Linked DNA regions of Homo sapiens: region 2 is linked to region 1. The links are contacts of gene promoters, found by promoter capture Hi-C in blood cells and fetal thymus (Javierre and others, 2016). All regions are on one chromosome and are shown on one strand. The core of a region is centred on a gene start or on the middle of the fragment in contact, and the rest is flanking DNA. Distances in the headings are between cores, read along the strand shown.

Region 1 (4,514 bases), core at 848-3,347:
AGATAATGCCAGCCAGGGTCATTTCTATTTGGAATCTGTATTCTTCTCCAGCAATATCTCTATTCAGACACTAGCACTGGGCAGATATGTTCAAATACTGATTTTCCTTCAAATTCATCTCATCCTGGATTCTAGTCACCCAATTAAAACTGAAATTAGAAATAATGTGAATCAAAGACCATTCTGCAGAAATTCTAGGTTTACAGCTCAATTTGAATCACCAGTTTTAGAAGGCACAGACTGTGTATTTCTAAAAAATGAAAGGAGCTTTAGAGATCAGCTTCTTTAATCCTTTCATTACAGAGATGAGAAAACTGTAACCTGATAGTGTTGACAAATCTGTCCAGAGCTGTGCTGTCCAACACCACAGCCACTAGACACAGGTGACTATTTAAACTTAGTCAAAGTTAAATTAAAAATTCAGTTCTTCAGTCTGTTAGCCACATTTCAAATGTTCAATAACCACATGTGGCTAGTGGTTACCATAATGGGCGGTGCAGACCCTGAATGTTTCCCCACTGCAAAAAGCTCTGTTGGACAGTGCTGGTCCAGGATCACCCTCCCTAGCCAAAGTCAGGTCTCCTGACCTGCATTCTCCTCCATTTCTCCTGGACCATATTAAGTATGGCCAACTATGCAGAAACATTTGAGATAGCCGGCCTTCATCCTTTCCTATCAATCTCTGCCAAATTTTTCCCATTTAAAAAAGAAAAGAATCCAGTCTGATGGCTCTGATGAAAATTTAAAATAAATAAAAATTTCTTAAAAAGAAAAGTTTAATATTTTTAATGAAAACCCTCTAACATGACATATATATAAAGCCATCATCTGAGAGTCCTAAACATAACAGGAAGGAATATAAAGGTTTAGAGTCCAAATGTCTGTTATCCAGTTCCCCCTCAGTCACTTATTAGTTCCAGGGCCTGGATACATCAACTAAAGTTTCACCAAGGTGTAATTACCTCAAGTGTAAAATAGGAATACTACTATTTGTCTGTCTCCACATCACTGGGTAGGAAGGAAGGATCACATGAGCTGATGTATGTAAAAGTATATGTGGAATGTATGTGAATCCTACAAGCCTGTTAACGTGGGAACTAGAAGACATTTTACAAATGTTTACTTTTTGTAAAAGGCTTCATACAAATATGTGCATCTTGTTATAATCATTTAACTTTCTGCCTCCTATAAATGGATAATGGGAATCTGAAAATATGAATAAAAAGCAACGATTAAGGAGAAAACAGAAAGCAAAGCCCAAATGAGGATCAACAAAAACAGTACAATCCTCCTCAAACACAAAAGAACCATCAAGAATCATGCTGAGAGGCATTAACAGTGGCAAGAGACTTTGATGAACATCCAGACCAATCCTCTCACAACACAGACAGAGAAACTGAGGCTCAGAGGTAAGTTTATTTGTCCATTCAACTAGTTAACAGAGCAAAGCCTACAATACAAGTCTTCTGATTTTTTTTTTTTTTTTTTTGAGACAGGTTCTCACTCTGTCACTCAGGCTGGAGTGCAAGTGGCATGATCACAGTTCACTGCAGCCGTGACCTCCCACGCTCAAGCAATCCTTCCACCTCAGCCTTCTGAGTAGCTGGGACCACAGGCACACGCCACCACGCCCCTCTAATTCTTTTGATTTTTGGTAGAGACAAGGTCTTGCTATATCACCCATGCTGGTCTCAAACTCCTGGGCTCAAGCGATCCTCCCACCTTGGCCTCCCCAAGTGCTGGGATTACAGGCCTAAGCCACCGCACCAGCCCCTCCTCTGACTTCTTGTCTCATGCTCTTCCCCACCCCACAGCCTCTCCTATGAATCTTTGCCTTGGCTTTTTTTCTTTCGTACCACTTTCCATGTTTTAGCATCCAAGTAACTTAATAACATAACTTTTTCTTGCAGTTAAAAAGTGTTTATTTGGCCGGGCACAGTGGCTCATGCCTGTAATTCCAGCACTTTGGGAGGCTAAGGTAGGCAGATCACAAAGTCAAAAGATAGAGACCATACTGGCCAACATGGTGAAACCATGTCTCTCCTAAAAATACAAAAATTAGCCAGGCGTGGGAGCACACACTTGTAGTCCCAGCTACTCAAGAGGCTGAGGCAGGAGAACTGCTTAAACCCAGGAGGCGGAGGTTATAGTGAGCCAAGATCATGCCACTGCACTACAGCCTGGACAACAAAGCGAGACTCCGTCTCAAAAAAAAAAAAAAAGGTTTATTCATTCATACACTCATTCAACAAACACACACTGTTACTGTTCACAATTGAGTCCAGTGGGAGAGAGAAGAAAGTGAATGAATAGTTTCATAACAATGTGATAAGTGCAGCACTGGAGGAATGCAGTAGACTAAGGGCTCCTATGCAACCTGAGGGGTGGGAATGACTTGGAATAGGAGTCATCCAAGCTGGGAGGATGGAGAAAATAAGGCAGTAAGTTAGGGCAGCAATGAAATTCATAAATATAAATCTATTTCGATATTCTTTTTTCTTTGGTAGCCTTAAATACACCAAATATAAAATAGAGTTCAATAAACAAGTAAAGTCATCAATTAGCACTTTTTAGCAAATAAAATAAGTAGATTCAAAGTTTTAAGAATGAAAGGTAAAGAACTAATCTCAGAGCCAGGCACTGTGACACACCTGTAGGTCCAGCTACACAGAAGCCTCAGGCAGGAGGATCACTTGACCCCAGGGAGTTCCCAGCTTGGGCAACGTAGCGAGACCCCAGCACATAAAAAAATATATAATTAATCTCACCTTCTAAACAGAGAAAAATGAGTTGAAAAAAGTTATGATGTGACTACCTCAGATTTCCTACAAATGTAGGACAGTTCCCTCTGAGAGAGCTTATTTGGCGGCAGGACCTAATTCAATATAAGGTGGAAATATCAAAGAGAAAATGAAATAAAAACTAAATGGGCCCCTCCACCAACAAAAAATTAAAGATTATTGCGTGGGAGGTCACCATTGAGAATAAAAGACGTAGAACAAACCAAAAAAAGAAGCTCTCAAACTAAGGAGGTGAAAAAAAGAAATCAAACGGGAAACCTGCGGGTCTATGTGCACAGTCTTGGTCTTCCCCCACACAACAAAATCTAGGGCCACTTTAGGGTTCTATGCCCTTTTGTTCCTAACTCGACATTGCCCACTTCTGGCCAGAATGTAAAGCAACCCCCAACCCAGCATCTAAACCCTCCTGGACCTCTGCTGCCCCCCAATGACTGGAAAGAAACTAGGTTTTTTAACACAGGTATCAGTAGCTTCTTCCCCCAAACTCAACTCCTCATGTTTTGTAGTAGCCGCTCAACACATGAAACATACCATCCACTAGGTGGCAGCAAAGCCCACAGAATAACATCAAGTTCCCCTTCCCGAGGTAATTTTCTAGATTACTATACTTTAACTGAATTCGAAAAGCCAACATAATTTCATGTTTGTAAACAGTGCTGCCAGTCAGAGTTTAAAATGTTCTGCCCAACCCTGTAGCCCCCTTGTTCCAGCTAGGATCAAACACTGAATTTTTTAAGACTTGTGAGAGAATGGTCTCCATTATAAAAACAAAACAATGCTAACAAGGCACAGGCATTTGGCAACTATCTCCCTGGGAGCTGAGCACATTTTCAAGCAAGGTTTTGTCCCTTTGGGCCCAGTTCACCCTTCCTTCTGACCCAGGGCCCAATTCATCAGGAACTTTAATTCTCAAACTGTGATCCAATACAGTTCTGTCCTTCTTTTCCTCATTACCCTTCAGAACACCTGAGATGGACTGAGATTTTTTTTTTTTTTTTTAAAAAAGAGTTTCACAGGCCAGGTGCAGTGGCTCACGCCTGTAATCCCAGCACTTTGGGAGGCCAAGGCGAGTGGATCACGAGGACAGGAGTTCAACACCAGCCTAGCCAACAGAGTGAAACCCCATCTCTACTAAAAATACAAAAACTAGCCGGGCAAGTGCCTGTAGTCCCAGCTACTCGGGGAGGCTGCGGCAGGAGAATTGCTTGAACCCGGGAGGCAGGGTTGCAGTGAGCCAAGACTGCACCACTGCACTCTAGCCTGGGCAAGACAGTAAGACTCTGTCTCAAAAAAAAAAAAAAAAGAATTTCACAAAGAAACACAGAAGAACAAACATGGAAAAAACTAAAGTATATACATTTTTAAATACTGAAATCCACTGAGCTTCTTTCTGTCATGGATTCATTCAAAAATATGCCGCCACCTACACAACAAAAACTGATCATTTCAGGTGTGCATGGATTTCTGGGGGTCAGAAGCTCACTGGGAGAATTTTTGCTTTTGTATTTTCATTTGTATAGTCTAAAAAATAAAAAATATTGAGTCTTTCTTGATCACCTGGATAGATACATTAGTTGTAAGATTTCTAGCAAGGGGCTCTTTTTTTTTTTTTTTTTTTTTTTAGAAAACAGAGTCTTACTCTTGCCAGGCTGGAGTGCAATGGTGCAATTCGGGCTCACTGCAACCTCCGCCTCATGGGTTCAAACGATTCTC
Region 2 (4,514 bases), core at 777-3,276, 470 kb after region 1:
GGAGTGAGCCACCACGCCCGGCCTTCAACGAATTCTTAAATTCTTTTTTTTGAGACAGAGTCTCACTCTGTCGCCCAGGCTGGAGTGCAGTGGCGCGATCTCTGCTCACTGCAACATCCACCTCCTGGGTTCAAGCAATTCTCATGCCTCAGCCTCCTGAGCAGCTGGTATTACAGGCGCCCGCCACCACGCCGGGCTAATTTTTGTATTTTTAGTAGAGATGGGGTTTCGCCATGTTGGCCAGGCTGGTCTTGAATTCCTGAACCTGGGGGCGGAGGCTGCAGTGAGCTGAGATCATGCCACTGCACTCCAGCCTGAGCGACAGAATGAGACACAGTCTAAAAAAACAGGAAAAAAAAAAAGAGAGAAGGAAGGGCTAAGGACCTAATTACACTTCTTCAGCATTGACACCAAGCCCTTTAATTCATCTGTCCATCCAACCCCTCCTCACTGTAGTGTCAGCCCAAGGATCATGTGGTTGCAGCTTAACTCACCAGGGCCTCTCTTATCCCAGCCACAGATCATGGTGCCCATGGACAGCCCCATGCCTTTGTACTGATACACCATGTTGGCAAGCAGTTTGGAGGCAGCTGCTACAGAGATGCGTTCCTTATTTCGAAGCTCATAGATTCGACATTGCCGAGCCAACAGCCGTTCCCAGAAGCTGCAATCCGCTGCGCCCCCAGCCATGGTGCCTAGCAGGTATGGGTTGATCTCTATCACCTTCTTCACCGTCTGGGAGGCAATGTAAGCACCCGCTGTAGCCCTGGAGTCAGCTGCAACTATGACTCCATGGCGGAACTGTTAAGATCAGAGGAAAACACAAAACAGGCCACATAAGACCACAAAAACACTCCTACATACTTCTTTTTGCATCAATCCAAACCCAGCACATCTCTTTCTCCGTCCTTTTATACTTCACAGTATACTTCTATACTTCACCATATATTAATGTCACCCGAGCTTCACATCAATCCCTTGACATGGATATAACCCATATTAAATTCATTTTATAGGATGGGCGTGGTGGCTCACTCCTGTAACCCAGGCATTTTGGGAGACCAAGGCGGGAGGACCGCTTGAGGCCAGGTGCTGGAGACCAGCCTGGGCAACACAGGGAGATCCATCTCTACAAAAAGTAAAAAAACTTAGCCTGTCGTGGTGGTGTGTGCCTATAGTGTCAGCTACTCTGGAGGCTGAGGCGCTGGAGCCACTGCACTCCAGCCTGAGCGACAGCGAAAAGCCCTGTTTCAAAAAAAAAAAAAAAACAAATCATTTTATAGATGAGGAAACAGGTTCAATGAAATCAAATGATTTCTCAATCTAGAGCTAGTTATTGCAGAGCTGGGCAAGGAACCCCAAATGTCTGATTCTTAGTACAATGCTTACCCTCACCACGCTTCCCCTTCATGCCAGTTTCAGTTACCCCTGCCTTGAGGGGCCGCCCAGTTTCCAAAACTTTGGTAAACGTTTACAATAGCCTTCCCTCGGCCAAGATTCATTGTTGTTGCGGCCTTTCCCAGCTAGAAGATCCTGAACAGCAGCAACCTGGGGTCGCCTAGGAATCAACCCAAGAGGCCTCACCTTCCTCCCCCGACTTACCCCCGGCCCCACCGCCACCCTTTCCAACCAGAGCAAAGACAGGGGCCTCCTGGGCCAATGAGACAGCAAAACTGCTGCGGTCCGAACGAGAGGACCCAGCCTCCGCCTGGGTTGGTGGCCAAGGCCACCGCAAACTCCGGTCAGGCTGGGAGGCCAGGCAAGTCGCGGGCGTTCAGTACTCAGCCTGGCAAGGGGGCTGGCTCCACACCTTGAAGGCCAGGGTGGTTGTTCCATGAAGCATTTCGATTCCTGGCTCTTCTGGGACACCCCAGCCTGGCGCGGCCAGGCTCAGACCATCACTGAGACTCCCTGGACCTAGATCCAGCAGATCTGCACGACCCCCAAGTCCGAAAAACCCGCGCTGGTTCACCGGTAGCGGTCTCTCCAACACGCTGGCAAGCGCCATGTCTAGTGTGGGCAGAAAGAACTAATTCTGAGAACGCCTAGCAAAGATAGGCCGGGCAACGCCTCGCCGTCACAGCTTCACTTCCTATTAAATCTATTCCGGAATGGAGCCATTTTGACTGCTGGCAAGCACGCCTCCAAAAAGAAGAGCCAGATGCGAAAGACCATTTTCACTGAAGGGGGTCGGGGAAATAGATGGCTTCACTAACCTTAAATTCTAAAAGGACGTACCTGCCATCTTGGCTTTGGTCATGCAAGTAGTCCTGGATCAGAATAACCTCAAAATCACAGGAAGTGACTGAAAACGTCCATGTTGCGTAAGGGAAGTGAGGTCGGCCATCTTTGAGAAGGGCGTGACTGGTTGAAAATCGGTTCTGAACCCTTAGCGGTGAGTCCTCCCACTCCAGCCTGGTGTCCAAGCAACAGGTTACATCGCTGCTGCTTCAGCACCTTGTTAACGCGCCTGAGGTTGCCATCTTGTTTAAGGGCACCTTCTAAAATTGGGTAAAATAATGATCCATTCTGAGGCCATTTCCCTATATTAGTTAAACCACAGCAATTAGTGGTAAAACAACGCAACAAAATAAAAGTGCTATACCTCTTGTTGTCAGTCGCCATACAGCAACCCTTCTTTAACAGTAACCGGTTATTAATATCCAATATTCGTTCTCTTGACTCCTACCTTCTGGTGGAAATTCGAATAAGTAATGAATTGCCTAAAAGGCAGATGGAAGAAGAAAAAGCAAAGGGTCCAGTTAATCCACAAACTAGATTCTCAGTTCAGACCTGAATAAGTGTCAGTAGTAATTTACCATCTCAGAGACGGGAGGACGGTTGAGACTGCATAAATATGTACCAAGAGATTCTCTAACTTCAACTTGCTAAGATGATGCCTTTTATTCAGGAACATACTATATTTCATTGCCTCTTCCTCCCTCCACCCACCTTCATTTTTCAAATCTTTTGGGAACTATAACAAACCGGGAAGTGTGCATATGTATGAAATGTTGCCTCCTGCTTTATGGTTCTATGAAGTCAGTCTCTGGCCTTCCTTGTTGGATTCTAGCAGCAACATCTATCAACACCGAAATTCCACTTTCCTCTGATGCCCAGTTCGGCCCCATCTTTCCCCCAGCAGACTCTGCATATGCTGTATTGTTTTTGTTTGTTTGTTTGTTTGTTTTTTGAGACCAAGTCTTGCTGTGTCCCCCAGGCTGGAACACAGTGGCACGATCTCTGCTCACTGCAACCTCTGCTTCCCAGGTTCAAGCGATTCTCCTGCCTCAGCCTCCCGAGTAGCTGGGATTACAGGCGCCTGCCTCCACAACAGGCTAATTTGTGTGTGTGTGTGTGTGTGTGTGTGTGTGTGTGTGTGTGTGTGTGTTTAGTAGAGACGGGGTTTCACCGTGTTAGCCAGGATGGTCTTGATCTCCTGACCTCGTGATCCACCCACCTCGGCCTCCCAAAGTGCTGGGATTACAGGCATGAGCCACCGTGCCCGGCCTCACGCCTGGCTAATTTTTGTATTTTTAGTAGAGATGGGGTTTCACCATATTGGCCACGCTGGTCTCAAACTCTTGACCTCAGGTGATCCGCTTGTTAGCCAGGATGGTCTTGATCTCCTGACCTCGTGATCCACCCACCTCGGCCTCCCAAAGTGCTGGGATTACAGGCATGAGCCACCGTGCCCGGCCTCACGCCTGGCTAATTTTTGTATTTTTAGTAGAGATGGGGTTTCACCATATTGGCCACGCTGGTCTCAAACTCTTGACCTCAGGTGATCCGCTTGCCCCGGCCTCCCAAAGTGCTGGGATTACAGGTGTGAACCACTGCGCCTGGCCTATGCTGTATTTTTAATGCTGAAATTGGCAACCCTTTCCAAGCCCAATCATCAGAATAGAATTAAACAGGAGATCTTTGTGTTTCACACTTGGATGATGTGGAAAATGCGGAGTGCGTCTGTTTACTGAGCATATATTATTTTGCAGTCACCCCTGCAGTGCAACTAGTCTTTCTGCCTCCTTCCAGTGGTTTTTCACTCTGCCACTGATAGCATGTGTACCTCTCTTAAGGCCCTTTTACATTTTACCTGGTTAGAAATTACATTTATCTCCTACCGGATTGTGAGCTTTTAAATACAAGTACTTACTATTCATTTCTGTACCCACTGTATGCTTAATACATATTTGCCAAATGAACACCTGAAAGAATGACAGCAGTGGTCTTCTAGTCAAAAAGGCTTGAAGTCCTTGCTTATCTTTTACAGCTTTTTTCTTTCCTTCATATCCAGTTAGTTGCATGGTCCTGTTGATTATTTCCACTTCAGTGTTTCTCACATTCTTTTTCATTACAACTGATACCACCTTTGGCTTCTTATGTCCTCATTCTGGAATTGCTGAAATATTCTCCTTATTTTATTTTATTTTTTTGAGATGGAGTCTCGCTCTGTCGCCCAGGCTGGAGTGCAGTGGCGCAATATTGGCTCACTGCAACCTCTACCTCCTGGA

What was found. The method cuts DNA at HindIII sites, captures the fragments that hold promoters and counts their contacts. A CHiCAGO score of 5 or more calls a contact.
Region 2: a contact is called between the fragment with the promoter of PSMB5 here and a fragment that was not itself captured in region 1, in 1 of 17 cell types (neutrophils). The highest score is 6.0, in neutrophils.

The regions. Positions count from the first base shown.
Region 1 is chr14:22,567,226-22,571,739 of GRCh38, forward strand. The region is part of intron 2 of DAD1 (defender against cell death 1); the gene reads right to left. Among named protein-coding and RNA genes, the nearest start is that of LINC02332, 12 kb to the left of the region's middle. RefSeq lists an enhancer at 3,069-3,791. The HindIII fragment of the contact is 9,980 bases long and covers 1-4,514 here.
Region 2 is chr14:23,032,874-23,037,387 of GRCh38, forward strand. It overlaps PSMB5 (proteasome 20S subunit beta 5), which reads right to left and starts at 2,027. Exons shown (of 3, transcript NM_002797.5): 1 at 1,811-2,027; 2 at 495-801. The coding sequence starts at 2,008. RefSeq lists enhancers at 1,753-2,952, 1,753-2,422, 2,207-2,501. The HindIII fragment of the contact is 18,957 bases long and covers 1-4,514 here.